Linked DNA regions of Homo sapiens: region 2 is linked to region 1. The links are contacts of gene promoters, found by promoter capture Hi-C in blood cells and fetal thymus (Javierre and others, 2016). All regions are on one chromosome and are shown on one strand. Each heading gives the region's core, a stretch centred on a gene start or on the middle of the fragment in contact. The rest is flanking DNA. Distances are from core to core; before and after follow the strand shown.

Region 1 (7,493 bases), core at 3,359-5,858:
GTACAACAGGTGACTGGTAGCCCCTAAGAACTGGGTCCCTGAGTCAGTCAGACCTTCCTGTGTGGCCGAGGGCTTCCTTGAGAGCTGCTGTGTGGCTCTGGGCTTTTGGGCCACCTCTCTGGGCCTTAGTTTTCCTCATCTGTAGATCAGTGAAGGGCAGACAGGAGCTTCCTTCCCTTGGGGAAACAGCCAGGGGCCTGTACTCCACTAGGGATCCCAGAGCCTCTGGCCAAAGCTTGGGAGACCAGAGGAGACCCCGCAGGTATGGGTACTCCCCCAGCGAGAATCTGCCAGGTGGTGGCGGAGACCCTTCGGTGGCCCCGTGAGTGGAAGGAGGGGTGCCCCCACCCCTTTAACCAGGAGCTTCTGTTTGAAGGAGTCCCAGGCTAAATGAAGTCGGAAAACCACCAGCCCCCAGACGCTCTAAGGACCTTTCGGGGGAAGCATCTTGGTTCTGGAGTCCAAAGTCCTGACCTGACGCGTCTCAGCAAATGTTGACAACTCCCACCTCCTGTGTGCAGCCCCACAGCCTCCGCCAAGCCCCAGGGCTAGAGCTCTACCTCCCCTCCCCATGGCACCCCCTATAACACAGCATTTCCCAGGGCCGGACCCGCTCTGGCTCTCCCACAGGTAGCTTCTCTCTCAGGCAACCCCGACTTGGCAAATTCCACCCGTGCCCCCACCTCATTGGCAAGTGACACTGGCACTGCCTCCAAAACAGTCCTGGACCTAACGACTCTCCCTCTCTCCCATCCGGTGTCAGACCCAGGCTGCCACAGCTCCTTGGGGGTGATGTCACCCCTCCCCCTCGCCTCTGGCTTCCACTCTGCCTCCCTCCCAGCAGCTGGGTCACCTTTTTTTTTTCCCAAGACAGAGTCTTGCTCTGTCGCCCAGGCTGGAGTGCAGTGGCACAATCTTGGCTCACTGCAACCTCCACCTGCCAGGTTCAAGCAATTCTCCTGCCTCAGCCTCCCCAGTATCTGGGATTACAGGTGCGTGCCACTACGCCTGGCTAATTTTTGTATTTTTAGTAGAGACAGGGTTTCATCATGTTGGCCAGGCTGGTCCCGAACTCCTGACCTTGTGATCTGCCCGCCTTGGACTCCCAAAGTGCTGGGATTATAGGTGTGAGTCACTGCATCCAGCTGCCACTTTTTAAATCTGTGTATTGAAGTATGAGATGCAAATAGAAAAGCACACCAAACATTGGTGTAGACATATTTGCCAAACTGGGTACACCTGTGTCATAGATCAGATACAGAACCTGGGCGATCGGTCACTGAGTGACACATATCCCCTGCCTGAGGCTGTCCCACCAAGCACAAGGGCATCTTCTATCTGGTTGTACCTGCCGTGCACCCCACTCCTGCCTCTGTCCTGGAACATGAAACCTTGTCCACAACCTGTATCCTGTTCATTACCTTTCTCTCCTCCCTACTTGAATGTTAGCTCCAAGGAGCTGGTGACTGTGTCCTTCTTGATCACCCAGCACCCTGCCAAGTGCCAGACACAGAGTATGTGCTCACGAAACTCTGGGCAGCAAACGAACGGCCGTGCCAGAGCAGTGGGCACTGGAGAACTGTGCATGTGCAGCCAGCAGCAGGTCACAGTGAGGATGCCCTCACTCACCCAGTTCTCCGTCTTCCTGGCCCGACGCTCCAGCCCCTTCTGCAGGCGCTCCCCTACACCTCCTGAGGCCTGAAACTCATCCACCAGCTGCTTGGTGTGGGCCCACTCCTCCTCACTCACGATGGGCTGCAGCGCCTTCAGGTAGTGGTCCAGGGACTGCTGGAGAGGGGGCACGGGCAGCCGTGGCAGTGCATCCTGGTGTGCCTTGAAGCGGCTGGAAGCCTTCATCAAGGAGAAGGGCTTCAGGAAGCCCAGAGGCTTCACCTGCAGGTAGCAGAACATCCTGTTCATTCCCTCCCCGGCTCTGGAGCCCTGGCAGCCCCAAAGCTGTAGTCCTGGGCACTTAAGTGCCCATCCCTGGGGGCAGAGACGGCCTCTTGGGTGGGGCTGGCCCTGGCCTCCCAGCCCTAGAGCTCTAGGTGTCCCCGCCTCTCTGGGGCCTGGAGATGCAGGTAGGGATGGGGGAGGGTGGGGTGTGGCCATGGTTCTTAGCAAGGCTCAGGGGAACCAAGTCAGGATGAACGGCACCTTTGGGGTGGCAGAGGTGAGGGGGACCGCCCACCTGTTGGGTTGCACAGGCCCCTCCTTTCTCACCCTGGAAGAGGAGCCAGCCAGCAGAGTGGTGACTGTCCCTCTTGGAGGTCCCCACGTCCTTTTCTCCCACCCTTTCCAGGTTGAGAAACAGAAGGGAAGAAGAGAGAATCACAGAGAGCCAGACAATGGCAGCACCTTCGGGTGAGGGGCCTTGGGCTTCCTCCTGCCTTTGAGATGGGGCAGGGGTGGGGTGAGGGCAGTGCTGTGGCGAGAGAGCCGGGTGGCCTGGCATGGAGGGTGAGAGGCGGCAGAGAGAGAAAGAGAAAGTCCAGGAGGCCCTGGAGTGGGCAGAGACAGGAGGGCCCGAGGCTGCTCTTGCAGTGGGCAGGCGAGTGGCAGGAGCTCTGTTCCATACCTTCTCTCTCTGCTGCCCGTCCTCCTCCATGGCAGGACTGAGGTTCTGGGCCCTGTCTGTCTGCCTTGGCTGGATCTCTAAGCCTAACTGTGCTACAAAGTGAGTGAGCAGAACCTAGCCAGAGGCAGCCACTTGCCTGGGCTGGAAAGAGAAGACAAGAGCCAAGATTCAGCGGGAGGCAGGTGGCAGTGGCGATGGCTGTGGTGGAATCGGGGGTTGTGGCAGTGGCAGGGGAAGCTCCTGGACTCTAGAAGCTGCTCCACCCTCCCGAGCTCCCAGAAGTAGAGGAATGGGGAGCAGGTGAGAGGGCTAGTGGGGGGGCATTCCAGTAGAAGGGAACCTGGAAAGTTCTTTCCTTTCTTCTCTGCATGGGCTCAGTGCCAGGGAGTCAGGACAAAAGGTAATAAAAAATCCACCTGTCAGAATCTGCGAAGATCGTTTTGATGAGGGAAAACTTGGCTGGAGGACAGAGACTGCCTGGCCGCTGAGGTTACACCACAGCCCTGGGATCGGTCCTGAAATTAGGGTTGGTGCAAGGGAGCAGACACCAGGAAAAGGCCATCAGTGGATGGGACAGCCAGAAGCCCTGCCTATTTCCTGTTTCTCTCCAGGACTCCTGGGACCCATCTGAGCCATCCCTCTACGAACACTCATTTTTTCCTGAGCTGTGGCTCATTCAGCTAGGGTCCAAGAGCGGAGGACTTTTGGTATGAAAAATAAACCAAAGGACACTGGGATTGGGCTGGATTTGAATGAGCAGGTCCAGGGGACTCTGGGCAAGTCCCTCCTTGCCTCAGTTTCCCTGCAGGAAGGTAACCAGTCCAGTCGGATGGTCCTGGAGGATGATCTAGAGGCTGTTTGTGGGATGGATGCAGCTTGGGAGACAGTGACAAGGGTGCGGTGGAGGCTCAGGGTGTTGCAACACCTAAAAGAGCCTCTAGGCCTGAGCCTGGATGCACCCTCCGCCCTCTGGCCCCGTAGTGTGTGTCTGAGACAGAGTGAGACACCAGCAACATATGCTTGGATCAGGGACGGAAGGGACTGAAATTAGGCTAGCATCCGGGCTGCTCACCGGGGAGGACTGAGGGGTAGATATAGCCAGGGTGGGGAAGGGGGCTAGAGGGGAGGATATAGCCAGGGTGGGGAAGGGGGCTGGAGGGAAGGATACAGCCAGGGTGGGGAAGGGGGCTGGAGGGGAGGGAGACCATGGGGCTGCCACCTGCCAGTTCTGAGGCCTTTCTAGCTTGATGCCTCCGCGTGTTTCTCTGGCCACACACAATTCCCCAGGGACCGTCTGATAAACCAAAGGAGTGTGACCAACTGGACAGGGTCGGAGGAGTGGCTCTGGCCTAAGCGTGCGACGGGTGTGTCAATCGGAGAATAACTGGGAGAGTGAGCTAGGGTCTGGATGCTCCTGGTCTCTCTCCCCTACCGGCCTGTCTCTGGGTCTAAGGGTGGGGGTGCTAACTGAAGCCGGGGTCCCCCTTGTCTTTCCTGGGTCGTTGGAACTGAATGCTCCAGGACGTGGGTTTAATCCCGCTTCTGACCTTGCGCCCCAATCTCCTGCTCTGCCAAACCTGGGACGCCCGCCTGACCCCACCCCATCAGCTGGAGGCCGGGTCGAACAGCGGCCGCAGGACGCGGTCTCCGTTCCCGGACGCAACCGCACGGCCCGCCCAGGCCGTCCAGGGCCCTCAGGCCCGGGATCCGCCGCACTCACCACGGTCCTGGCAGCGAAGGCTAACATCTTCGCTGCCCGTCCGCGGACACGCAGTCCGCTCCGCCCCACACACCGGGCAAAGTCCGCGCCGCCGCCGCCGCGGCTGGGGTCGGTGGGTCCTTGCTAGAGCCTTCGGGCCAAGGTCGCTGAGTTACAGCCGCCAGCCGGTAGAGGCAGCCCCGCGCCCACCCTCTGGGCCGAGCGGGCTGCGGGAAGGCACCCGGGGAGGAGGACTCGCGAGGCGGGGCCTGGGCCGGTAGCGGGCCCCGGGCGGGCAACGGTGCCCGGGAGGTTGGCTGTGGGGCGGGGACGGGGCATCGATGGGGCGGAGTCTCCTTGAGGAGGGACAGGAGGGGCGGGGACGGAGGGGCGGGGCGTCGCCCGGTAGCGGGTCGCAGTAGGCTGGCTGCGAGTCGGGGGCGGGACCACGGCGGGCGGGGACAGAGGGGCAGGGCCGAGGGCGAGTCATTGAGACCTGTGGAGGAGGAAGGAGGAGGTCACCGTCCAGCTGTCTCTCCCCTGTCCCCACATGTCTTCTAAGCTGTTGGAGGTAGTGGTGTGCACCTTTCCAACTCCGTCTGGTGTCCTTGAGCCTAACTCTTAGAGTGATAGGAAAACACAACCATGTTGACCGGGGAATGTCCTCTAATATTCCTTGGGTTAGGGTCAGTACCACCCACAAAGATGACAGGTGGTACTCCGGGACAGGAGACTGTCCCGGAAAAACATGGCTGAGCACAACCCAAACTTGACGCCCCGCACAATCGTGGCAGTCGCGGCGCCCGACGTTCGGGCGGCCGTGAGCGGTCCTAGCGCTTGGCGGCCGTTGGCGCGCATGCGCCCCGCGCGCCCCGCACTGACATGGCCGTCGCCCGGTTCCGCGCGTCCGCCGCGCGCCGGCCGTTAATAGGCTTGCTCCCTGAGCGCCCCGCACCGACATGGCGGCCGTCTTCGCTGTGGTGACTTTAACTCTCGGTTTTCGGTTATAGCCGGCCGGCGCTCACTTGTCTTCAGGAAGCTCGGAGCCTTTGGTGGAGCCGGGGAGAGGAAGGGTGGGTGCAAGAGTGAAAGGCGAGAGGGGACTGCAAGCATCCGGGTCGGCTCCTGGCCGGAGCAAGATGGCTGAGGGCGAGCGGCAGCCGCCGCCAGGTAAGGCCGGCGGGGCCAGGCCGGGCCGGGGTCGGGTAGGGTGGGGGCGGTGCCAGGTGTGGGAGGCTCAGGAGGGCGAGAGTCATGACACGGAGGAACTGGAGGGGCAAAAGCTGAGGGGCCCCGAGGAGGGACTGAGTTGAATGGCCTTAGGGGAGAGGTGGGTGGTGGGGCGCCGCTGGGGAGGGAACCAGGGGCTGCAAAGGGGTGGTGATTGGGGCGCAACTCTGGGTTTTGTGGGAGTCCAGGCTGCCCGAATGCTGGGTGGGCAGCGCCGTGGTCATAAGGGGGCCTTTTGCATCTCTGGGCAGCGCGTGCTTAAGTAAGCTGCTGACTCGGTGGGGAAGCTGCCAGGGAGGGGGGCGAAAGTGATTCCGGAGGCTGCCGTCTTTATTAGTCGCTGCTTAGGGGATGGGGTGGTGCTCCGTGGGCCTGCGCCCGCCTCGCCTCCAGTTTCGGCCTCCGCGTCCTGCTCACCCCTCATCCTCCTACTCTCTGGTTCCAGTGCCTGAGAATTTATTGAGGGAAACTGCCCGTGGTGTCTAAATCCCTAATTTTAAAAGGCTGGTTGTGCAAGGAGGTTAGTCTCTCCGGCATCTCCTTCGGTAACTCTTATTTACCTTGTAGCCTCTTTTTAGTTCATCTTAAATAACTGGGATGGAGGTGCTACGGAAGGATCTTAGAGACCCTTTTTGTGCAGAAGGAGAAGGCTGTTTGCCGACCTACCTTGAACTAAGAAGGACTGGCCATAGATAACTTTTACATTCCCGACAGAGGCAAATAGGTTGGCCGACCAAACACAGCTAATGTTTTGAAAGCATTTGATATTCTTGCTATCCTGTCTCCAATGTTGGGGTCCCTGGGAAGGTCTCAGGAGGGAGAAATGTTGAAAATCAGAAAAGGCATCCCCTCCATGCCCCACAAAAGAGGTGAACAAAGAGCTGGGTTCCGTTTCTTAGGACATTCAAAACCAGACATTTATTTTGTACAAAACCTCTGGGTGTGTGCCCTTAGAACAAGGATGTCCAGGCCAGGCGCGGTGGCTCATGCCCGTAATCCCAGCACTTTGGGAGGCCGAGGCGGGCTGATCACCTGAGGTCGGGAGTTCGAGACCAGCCTGACCAACATGGAGAAACTCCGTCTCTTCTAAAAATACAAAATTAGCCGGGCGTGGTGACACACGCCCGTAATCCCAACTACTAGGGAGGATGAGGCAGGAGAATCGCTTGAACCTGGGAAGCAGAGGTTGCGGTGAGCTGAGATCGCGGCATTGCACTCCAGCCTGGACAACAAGAGTGAAACTCCGTCACCCCCCAAAAAAAAAACCGGGGTGTCCACTCTTTTGGCTTCTCTAAGCCACATTGGAAGCAGAATTGTCTTGGGTCACACATAAAATACACTAACACTAACGATGGCTGATGAGCTAAAAAAAAAGTCGCAAAAAAAAAAATCTCATAATGGTTTTGTGTTTCTTTTTTTTGAGACAGTGTCTCACTCTGTCCCCCAGGCTGAAGTGCAGTGGCATGGTCTCGGCTGACTGCACCCTCTGCCTCCCGGGTTCAAGCGATTCTCCTGCCTCAGCCTCCTGAGTAGCTGGGACTACAGGTGCGCCACCATGCCTGGCTAATTTTTGTATTTTTAATAGGGACAGGGTTTCACCATATTGGCCAGGCTGGTCTCGAACTCCTGACCTCGTGATCCTCCTGCCTCGGCCTTCCAAAGTGCTGGGATTACAGGCATGAGCCACCGTGCCTGGCCTATGTTTTAAGAAAGTTTACAAATTTGTGTCCGGCTACATTCAAAGCTGTCCTGGGCTGTGGGTTGAACAAGCTAGCCTTAGAAGTTCTGGTGATGACTCCGGGCACAGTGGCTCACACCTGTAATCCCAGCACTTTGGGAGGCCGACACAGGCGGATCACTTGAGGTCAGGAGTTCGAGACCAGCCATGGCCAACATGGCAAAACCCCGTCTGTATTCAAAATACAAAAATTAGCTGGGTGTGGTGGCACACGTCTGTAATCGCAGCTACTCGGGAGGCTGAGGCAG
Region 2 (7,493 bases), core at 3,573-6,072, 430 kb after region 1:
ATGGAATAATACCTTTAGGGTGTTGAGGAAAATTAACTACCAACTCAGATTAACATACCTAGCTAAACTGTCAGTAAAGAGTGTGAGCAGGCTGGGTGAGGTGTCTCATGCCTGTAATCCCAGCAGTTTGGGAGGCCAAGGTGGAAGGATCGCTTAAGCCCAGGAGTCGAGACTAGCTCTGGTAACTTAGCGAGATCCTGTTTCTACAAAAAATTTAAAAATTAACTAGGCATGGTGGCACATGCCTATAATCTCAACTACTTGGGAGGCTGAGGTGAGACAATCCCTTGAGCTGGAGAGATCAAGGCTGAAGTGACTCCTGATCATGCCATTGCAGCCCAGCCCGCGTGACAGAGCTAAAACAAAAAAGGGGAGTGAAAGGAAAATGTTTTCTTCTTTTTCTTTTCTCTTTTTTTTTTTTTGAGATGGAGTCTCACTTTGTTGCCCAGGCTGGAGTGAAGTGGCACCATCTTGGCTCACTGCAAACTCCGCCTCCCGGGTTCAAGCGATTCTCCTGCCTCAGCCTCCTGAGTAGCTGGGATTACAGGCACCCACCACCACACCTGGCTAATTTTTGTATTTTCAGTAGAGATGGGGTTTCACCATGTTGGTCAGGTTGGTCTCAAACTCCTGACCTCGTGATCTGCCCACCTCAGCCTCCCAAAGTGCTGGGATTACAGGCATGAGCCACCGCACCTGGCCCAATGTTTTCTTCTTCTTCATTTCAACACTATCCACTTGGAGAGGAAAGCATTTTCAAACCTACAAATCCCAAGATTTTTCACCCCCAAACTTTTGCTGCAAAAACTCTTAAAAGAGATTCTCTGCCAAAAAGAAACATAAATTAAAAGGGAAGGAGTATCAAGGAGCGGTAGTGAACAAATAATTTAATAAATGATATTGGTAAATCTAGCTATTATCCTAGGATAGAAGTTCAGCTGCTCTGACAGAGATCCAAAATACTAGCAGCTCACAAAGATAGAATTTTCTTTCTCCCTAAGTAACAGTCTGGGCATAAATAGTCATACGGCAGCTCCGAGTTATTGGAGACTCAGGTTCCTTATGTTTTCTTTCTTTCTTTCCTTTTTTCTTTTTTTTTTTTGAGACAGAGTCTCGCTCTTGTTGCCCAGGCTAGAGTGCAGTGGCATGATCTCAGCTCACTGCAACCTCCACCTCCCGGGTTCAAGTGATTGTCCTGCTTCAGCCTCCTAAGTATCTGGGATTACAGGTGCCCGCCAGTATGCCAGCTGATTTTTGTATTTTTAGTAGGAACGGGGTTTCACCATGTTGGCCAGGCTGGTCTCAAATTCCTGACCTCGTGATCGACCTGCCTCGGCCTCCCAAAGTGCTGGGATTACAGGTGTGAGCCACCACGCCCAGCTCGGGGCTTTTCTTTGAGACAGATCTTTGTTCTTGTTGCCCAGGCTGGAATGCAGTGGTGCAATCTCAGCTCACTGCAACCTCCGCCTCTGGGTTCAGGTGATTCTCCTGCCTCAGCCTCTCAAGTAGCTGAGATTACAGGTGCACATCACCACCCCCAGCTAATTTTTGTGTTTTTAGTAGAGATGGGGTTTCACCATGTTGGCCAGGCTGGTCTCGAACTCCTGACCTCAAGTGATCCAACCGCCTCATCCTCCCAAAGTGCTGGGATTATAGGCGTGAGCCACCACGCCCTGCCCCTTATGTTTTCTTGCTTCTTGATCCCTGTAATATTGCTCTGAACCCCCTAGTTCAAGATGGCTCACCACTGCACCCTCCTTCCCATCAACAGAAAGGGCAGGGTGTGCTGTTTCCTTTCAAGAGTAGGATCTGTAAGTCACACACACTGTATCACTCCTCTTACATCCCATAATCCATAGCTAGCTCCAAAGGAGGCTGGGAAATATAGTTCTTATCGGGTCTACCACATGTCCAGATAAAAAATTTTATTACTTTGCAAGACAGGAAGAGTGGATATTGGGGGACAACCAGCAACTCTGCCACAACCATTGTCTGTAAAAACTATATAATCCTAATGAAATTTTTGACATGAAATAATATAATTAAATCAAGAAGGAAATGTATCTAGGCAAGAAAGCCTGGAGCAGGGATATGTATTGAATGATCATTTGTACAGTTTGCAAAATGACACTCATTCAGTGTCAAGTGTCTGCAAAAGAGTGAAATTTCCATCTAAAATCAAGAAGTTCCATCTAAAATATAATAAGAAAAGACTAAGACTTTCACAAAGATGGAAGATCATGCAAATGACAATGTTAAGAATTAGATTGAGAGCCGGACGCGGTGGCTCATGCCTGTAATTCCAGTACTTTGGGAGGCCGAGGCAGGTGGATCACAAGGTCAGGAGTTCGAGACCAGCCTGGCCAACATAGTGAAACCCGGTCTCTACTAAAAATACAAAAAATTAGCCGGGCGTGGTGGCAGGTGCCTGTAGTCCCAGCTACTTGGGAGGCTGAGGCAGGAGAATCACTTGAACCCGGGAGGCAGAAGTTGCAGTGAGCCGAGATTGTGCCACTGCACTCCAGCCTGGGCAACAAGAGTGAAACTCTGGCACACACACACACAAAAGAATTAAATTGATACACTAAGATATGTCAAATCACATTCAGAAGACGGGCAGTAAATTTATACACTATCTAACTGTTAAAAAGGTGGAGTTCACATTTCAGACAAAAGTAACCAGGGTTATTTTTCAAGGTTTATGATATTTCCAGACTTACTATAATGCTACAGTAATCAGGACAATGGGATGTTGGCCTTAGGACAAACCAAAAGATCAATGGAGCAAGGAATCTAGAAATAGACCCATATATATATATATATTTTTTAAAGGCAGCTTAAAATAACAACTATATCTTCTTTTTTTGTTTTTTGAGACAGGGTCTTGCTTTGTAGCCTAGGCAAGGAGTGCAGTGGCATGATCATGGCTCAGTGCAGCCTCTCAACCTCTCAGACTCAAGCAATCCTCCCACCTCAGCCTCTCAAGTAGCTGGGACTACAGGTGTGTGCCACCACATCTGGCTAATTTTTAGATTTTTTATAGAGATGGGGTTTTGCGTTGTTGCCCAGGCTGGTCTGGAACTCCTGGGCTCAAGCAATCCTTACCTCTCAGCCTCCTAAAGTGCTGGGATCACAGGCATGCACCACCACACCCAGCCAACAATCCTGTCTTTGAAAACTAAGAAGCACATTTCTATTTCATAGGTTCAAGAGGAAATTGTTGCAGGAACGTTATTTCCTAATCTTGATGCTTCCTTCCATGCAGTGGGAGCTAAATCTGCATGACACACCCAGCCTCTCCCTTCTCCTTTCCACCCTCAGGCCTGGAGAAAGAGTGACTTACCTGACTGGTGAATGTGGGAACCGTAAAATGGGCCCACTTGACTCACCCACTCCCTTTCTCTTCCTGGGAGTGAGTGAGCCGCCCACAGGCAGTGGTCATTCTCTGCTCCTGCACCTGCCACCGCCAGCATCACAGTGACCAGGGGTTAAGGTGGCCAAATCCCCCTTTTCAGAAACCCATTTGGCTGTTTTACCTACCCTCATCCTCCAATCTTATTTCTATCAGTTTTTTTAAAAATGATTTTTTAAGGCCGGGTGCGGTGGCTCACATCTGTAATCCCAGCACTCTGGGAGGCCAAGGCAGGAGGACCCCTTGAAGCCAGGAGTTTGAGATCAACCTGGGCAACAAAGCAAGACCCCCATCTCTACAAAAAAAAAAAAAAAAAAAGTTTTAACCGCAAAAAAAAAAAAAAAAATTTTCCCTCCTCTGCTGACTCTTGCCTTATCTCTCAGTTAGTTCAGAATCCAGGAAGGAAAAGGGAAGTTATTCACTGAGCCCACTCAAAGACAACAGAAATCCCAATGGGAATTATGAAATATTTGCTCAATATGAAATATTTGCTCAATACAAAACAAAATTTGCAGAATGCAACTAAAAGGACATTTATGGAGAAATATATAATCTTAAGTGCATTTACTTTAAAACAAGAATGACTAAAACATACATGTGTAAAGCTTTCAACTAACTAAAGAAGCTTCAAACAAACAAAAAACAACAGTGGAAGGGAATAAACAATAAAGATAAGAGCATCAATGAAAAGGAAATCAACAATTACAGAATATTCAATAAAGCCCAAAGCTGTTTCTTTGAAATGACAAAATAGAAGAACATCTAGCAAGATTAATCAAGGAAAAGAAGAGTAAAGGCACAAATATCTAACATTAGGAATTTTAAAAAGTATGAAACTACAGATAGACTGGAAGTTTTAAGAATCATAAATGAAATAGAGAATTTACAGGAAAGCATAAATGATCAAAGTTTATTCAAAAACAAGAGAAACCCTGTCGGGTGCGGTGGCTCACGCCTGTAATCCCAACACTTTGGGAGGCCGAGGCGGGTGGATCACGAGGTCAGGAGATCAAGACCATCCTGGCTAGCACAGTGAAAGCCCATCTCTACTAAAAATACAAACAAAAAATTAGCCGGGCGTGGTGGCGGGCGCCTGTAGTCCCAGCTACTCGGGAGGCTGAGGCAGGAGAATGGCGTGAACCCGGGAGGCGGAGCTTGCAGTGAGCTGAGATCGCACCACTGCACTCCAGCCTGGGCGACAAAGTGAGACTCAGCCTCAAAACACACACACACACACACACACACACACAAAAACAAGAGAAACCCTAAATAAATCAATGGCCATTAAAGAAAAGAAATCAGCATTTTAAAAAATCACGCTTTGGCCGGGCGCGATGGCTCATGCCTGTAATCCCAGCACTTTGGGAGGCCAAGGTGGGCAGATCACAAGGTCAGGAGTTCAAGACCAGCCTGACCAACAGGATGAAACACTGTCTCTACTAAAAATACAAAAATTAGCCAGGCGTGGTGGTGCGCACCTGTAATCCCAGCTACTCAGGAGGCTGAGGCAGGAGAATCGCTTGAACCCGGGAGGCAGAGATTGCAGTGAGCTGAGATGGTACCACTGCACTCCAGCCTGGGCAACAGAGCAAGACTCCATCTCAAAAAAAAAACAAAAAAACCAAAAAAAAATGAGCCAGGTGTGGTGGCACGCACCTGTAATCCCAGCTACTCGGGAGGCTGAGGCAGGAGAATTGCTTGAACCTGGGAGGCAGAGGTTGCAGTGAGCCGAGATCATGCCACTGCACTCCAGCCTGAGCAACAGAGACACCGTCTCAAAAATAAATAAATAAAACTTAAAAAAATAAAAAATCACCCCTCCTACTCTCCACCTCCCCAGAGAAACCCCATATGCGGTGGACAGAAATGAGACCGAGATGTTTCTCAGAGGCAGAAGGAAGACAGGAACAGCTAGGGGTCTGGAAGTATTTGAGTCTCATGATCTCATCCTTACTCAGGGCTGCTCCATTCCTGTCCTTATCCCTGTTTTGTTTCACGTGGACTCCTAAGTTCTCCTTTTCCTTAGGCACATTCGGCTTGGTGTCTGTCATCGTATGTAACCTGAATACAAGCAGGGTACTAAATGTCCCAGTCATTTTCAAAAAATGATGGAGTGGCACAGTGTCTCACATGGTCCCAGGGTTCCCCTTTACACAAATACCTTCAAAATTCCACATTGGTGGCCACTGCTAAAAACAAGCTTTCCTTCTCTGTCTGCTTCTGAAACACCTCCCTAGCAGCTGATCCTACGTGCTTCCTTCCTTTGTGCCACATCAGCCCAGTCTTGGGTGGGGGGCTTCTGGTCCCACCTGCTGTTCTGCTCTTGGAGGGCCAGAGAATCCTAGATCTCCATGCCAGCCACGCAGCCCCCATCCTCCCCAGTCCCCTGGGGAAATCTTGGTGAGGAATTTCAGGTAACTCAAGTTTGCCTCCCTGTTGTACTGGAACCCATTCTCTACTTCTCAGAGCTCTTAAGCGGATTCAGTGCAAGGTGTTCAGCCCCGGTCTGACACAGGGCTGGGCCTTAAGAGTTCAGTATATGACGTATCTCCTTCATCCTCCACCCCAATGCCAACACAGAGCCTGGCCAAGCAGCACTTCCTCTAGAGGGAAATTTCCTCTAGTAGAAGGCAGAGAACGGGAGGAGCTCTAGACCACTGGGTAAGAGACTTCGGGGGCTACCGAATGACAGAGTTAAAAGGGACTTCAGGGCTGGGCATGGTGGCTCACGCCTGTAATCCCAGCACTTTGGGAGGCTGAGGCGGGTGGCTCACTTGAGGTCAGGAGTTCAAGACCAGCCTGACCAATATGGTGAAACCCCGTCTCTACTAAAAATACAAAATTTAGCTGGGTGTGGTGGTGTGTGCCCGTAGTTCCAGCTATTCGGGAGACTGAGGCAGGAGAATCGCTTGAACCTGGGAGGCAGAGGTTGCAGTGAGCCGAGATTGTGCCACTGCACTCCAGCCTGGGTGAGAGAGCGAGACTCCATCTCAAAAAAAAAAAAAAGGAAAGGGAAGGACTTCAGGCGTGAGCAACCAGGTTATTGCTCAACCTTGAATTTTTCTTCTGGAAGACTCTGGCATACACAGTCCCTTGTAGTAAGCTCCCAGCATGGAAGAAGGCACCAAGACAGAGACTGGGTAAGAACTGAGGGTCCATTGAAAGTCCTTAGAATCAATGCCCTTGAGCGGACAGACTCCCCAGCAGCCCTGCAGGCATTGTCAGAGGATAACCCGATGTTCTAACCCCTCCTGTCAGGCCACCATCATTCAAGCACAACTACACATGTGGAGGCCCAGCCGGGAAACCAGTAGCTGGTCAAACGCGTTGCAATAAATATATTTTCAGCCAATGATAACTATTTAATTGGGTCCTAATTAATGAATGTTCACAGAGCATTTGTGATGCTTCAGAGAACGGTCCCCTGAAAGACACAAGTGCTATGAGTCTATTAGCAGTGGCATTTTAAGGCACTCAAAATTGTAGGTGTGCTAGATCCCAGAAGATTACATTCACTGAAAGTGAACATTAAAATTAGTGCCCTTGTGTGACCCCACCTTTCTCCACTCCTTCTTTCCTCCTTCCTGCTTCCAGAAACATCACGGGTCTGACAGAGCCATGTGGTGGGAATAAGGCTCTTGTAGACTCACAACATTTGACTCTCAGGCTGAGAACTAGACCTTCTCACCTGGGACTCCACGGGGGCAGGTGTGGGTCTCCTTCATTCATGGCTGCACCCCAGCCCCTAGTGTAGGGCTGGCCTGGCACCAATAAGGGGCCTCATCTCTCAGAAGGATGAATACATGAAATGTTAGCCTCAACTTATCAGAGCGCTGGGCTCCCAGCCTCTCCATAGCAGGATCACAGACTGCTGGGCTCCTAGCACCCTAGACTGAAGGATGTGGAGGGCAGCACCCCTATTCTGCAGATGCAAAACCAAGAAACTTCAGGGCTTCCGCCTCACACTTCTGGTTGTTGGAGCAGGAGAGGAATGGAGAGAAGGAAGGAAAGGGGGCGAAGGAAAAGTCTTCTCTCCTGGTTATCAAGGGACACCCCATGAGCTGGGACAGCAACAGAAGCT

The links. The method cuts DNA at HindIII sites, captures the fragments that hold promoters and counts their contacts. A CHiCAGO score of 5 or more calls a contact.
Region 2: a fragment that was not itself captured here is called in contact with the fragment with the promoter of CRAT in region 1 in 2 of 17 cell types (endothelial precursors and monocytes); the score reaches 5.8 in endothelial precursors.

Annotation. Positions count from the first base shown.
Region 1 is chr9:129,106,185-129,113,677 of GRCh38, forward strand. It overlaps CRAT (carnitine O-acetyltransferase), which reads right to left and starts at 4,609. Exons shown (of 14, transcript NM_000755.5): 1 at 4,299-4,609; 2 at 1,630-1,893. The coding sequence starts at 4,325. It overlaps PTPA (protein phosphatase 2 phosphatase activator), which reads left to right and starts at 5,231. Exons shown (of 10, transcript NM_178000.3): 1 at 5,231-5,447. The coding sequence starts at 5,417. RefSeq lists silencers at 4,365-4,804, 5,495-5,544 and enhancers at 5,215-5,494, 5,427-5,967. The HindIII fragment of the contact is 8,818 bases long and covers 234-7,493 here.
Region 2 is chr9:129,539,611-129,547,103 of GRCh38, forward strand. No RefSeq gene overlaps it. Among named protein-coding and RNA genes, the nearest start is that of LINC00963, 55 kb to the left of the region's middle. The HindIII fragment of the contact is 1,575 bases long and covers 4,036-5,610 here.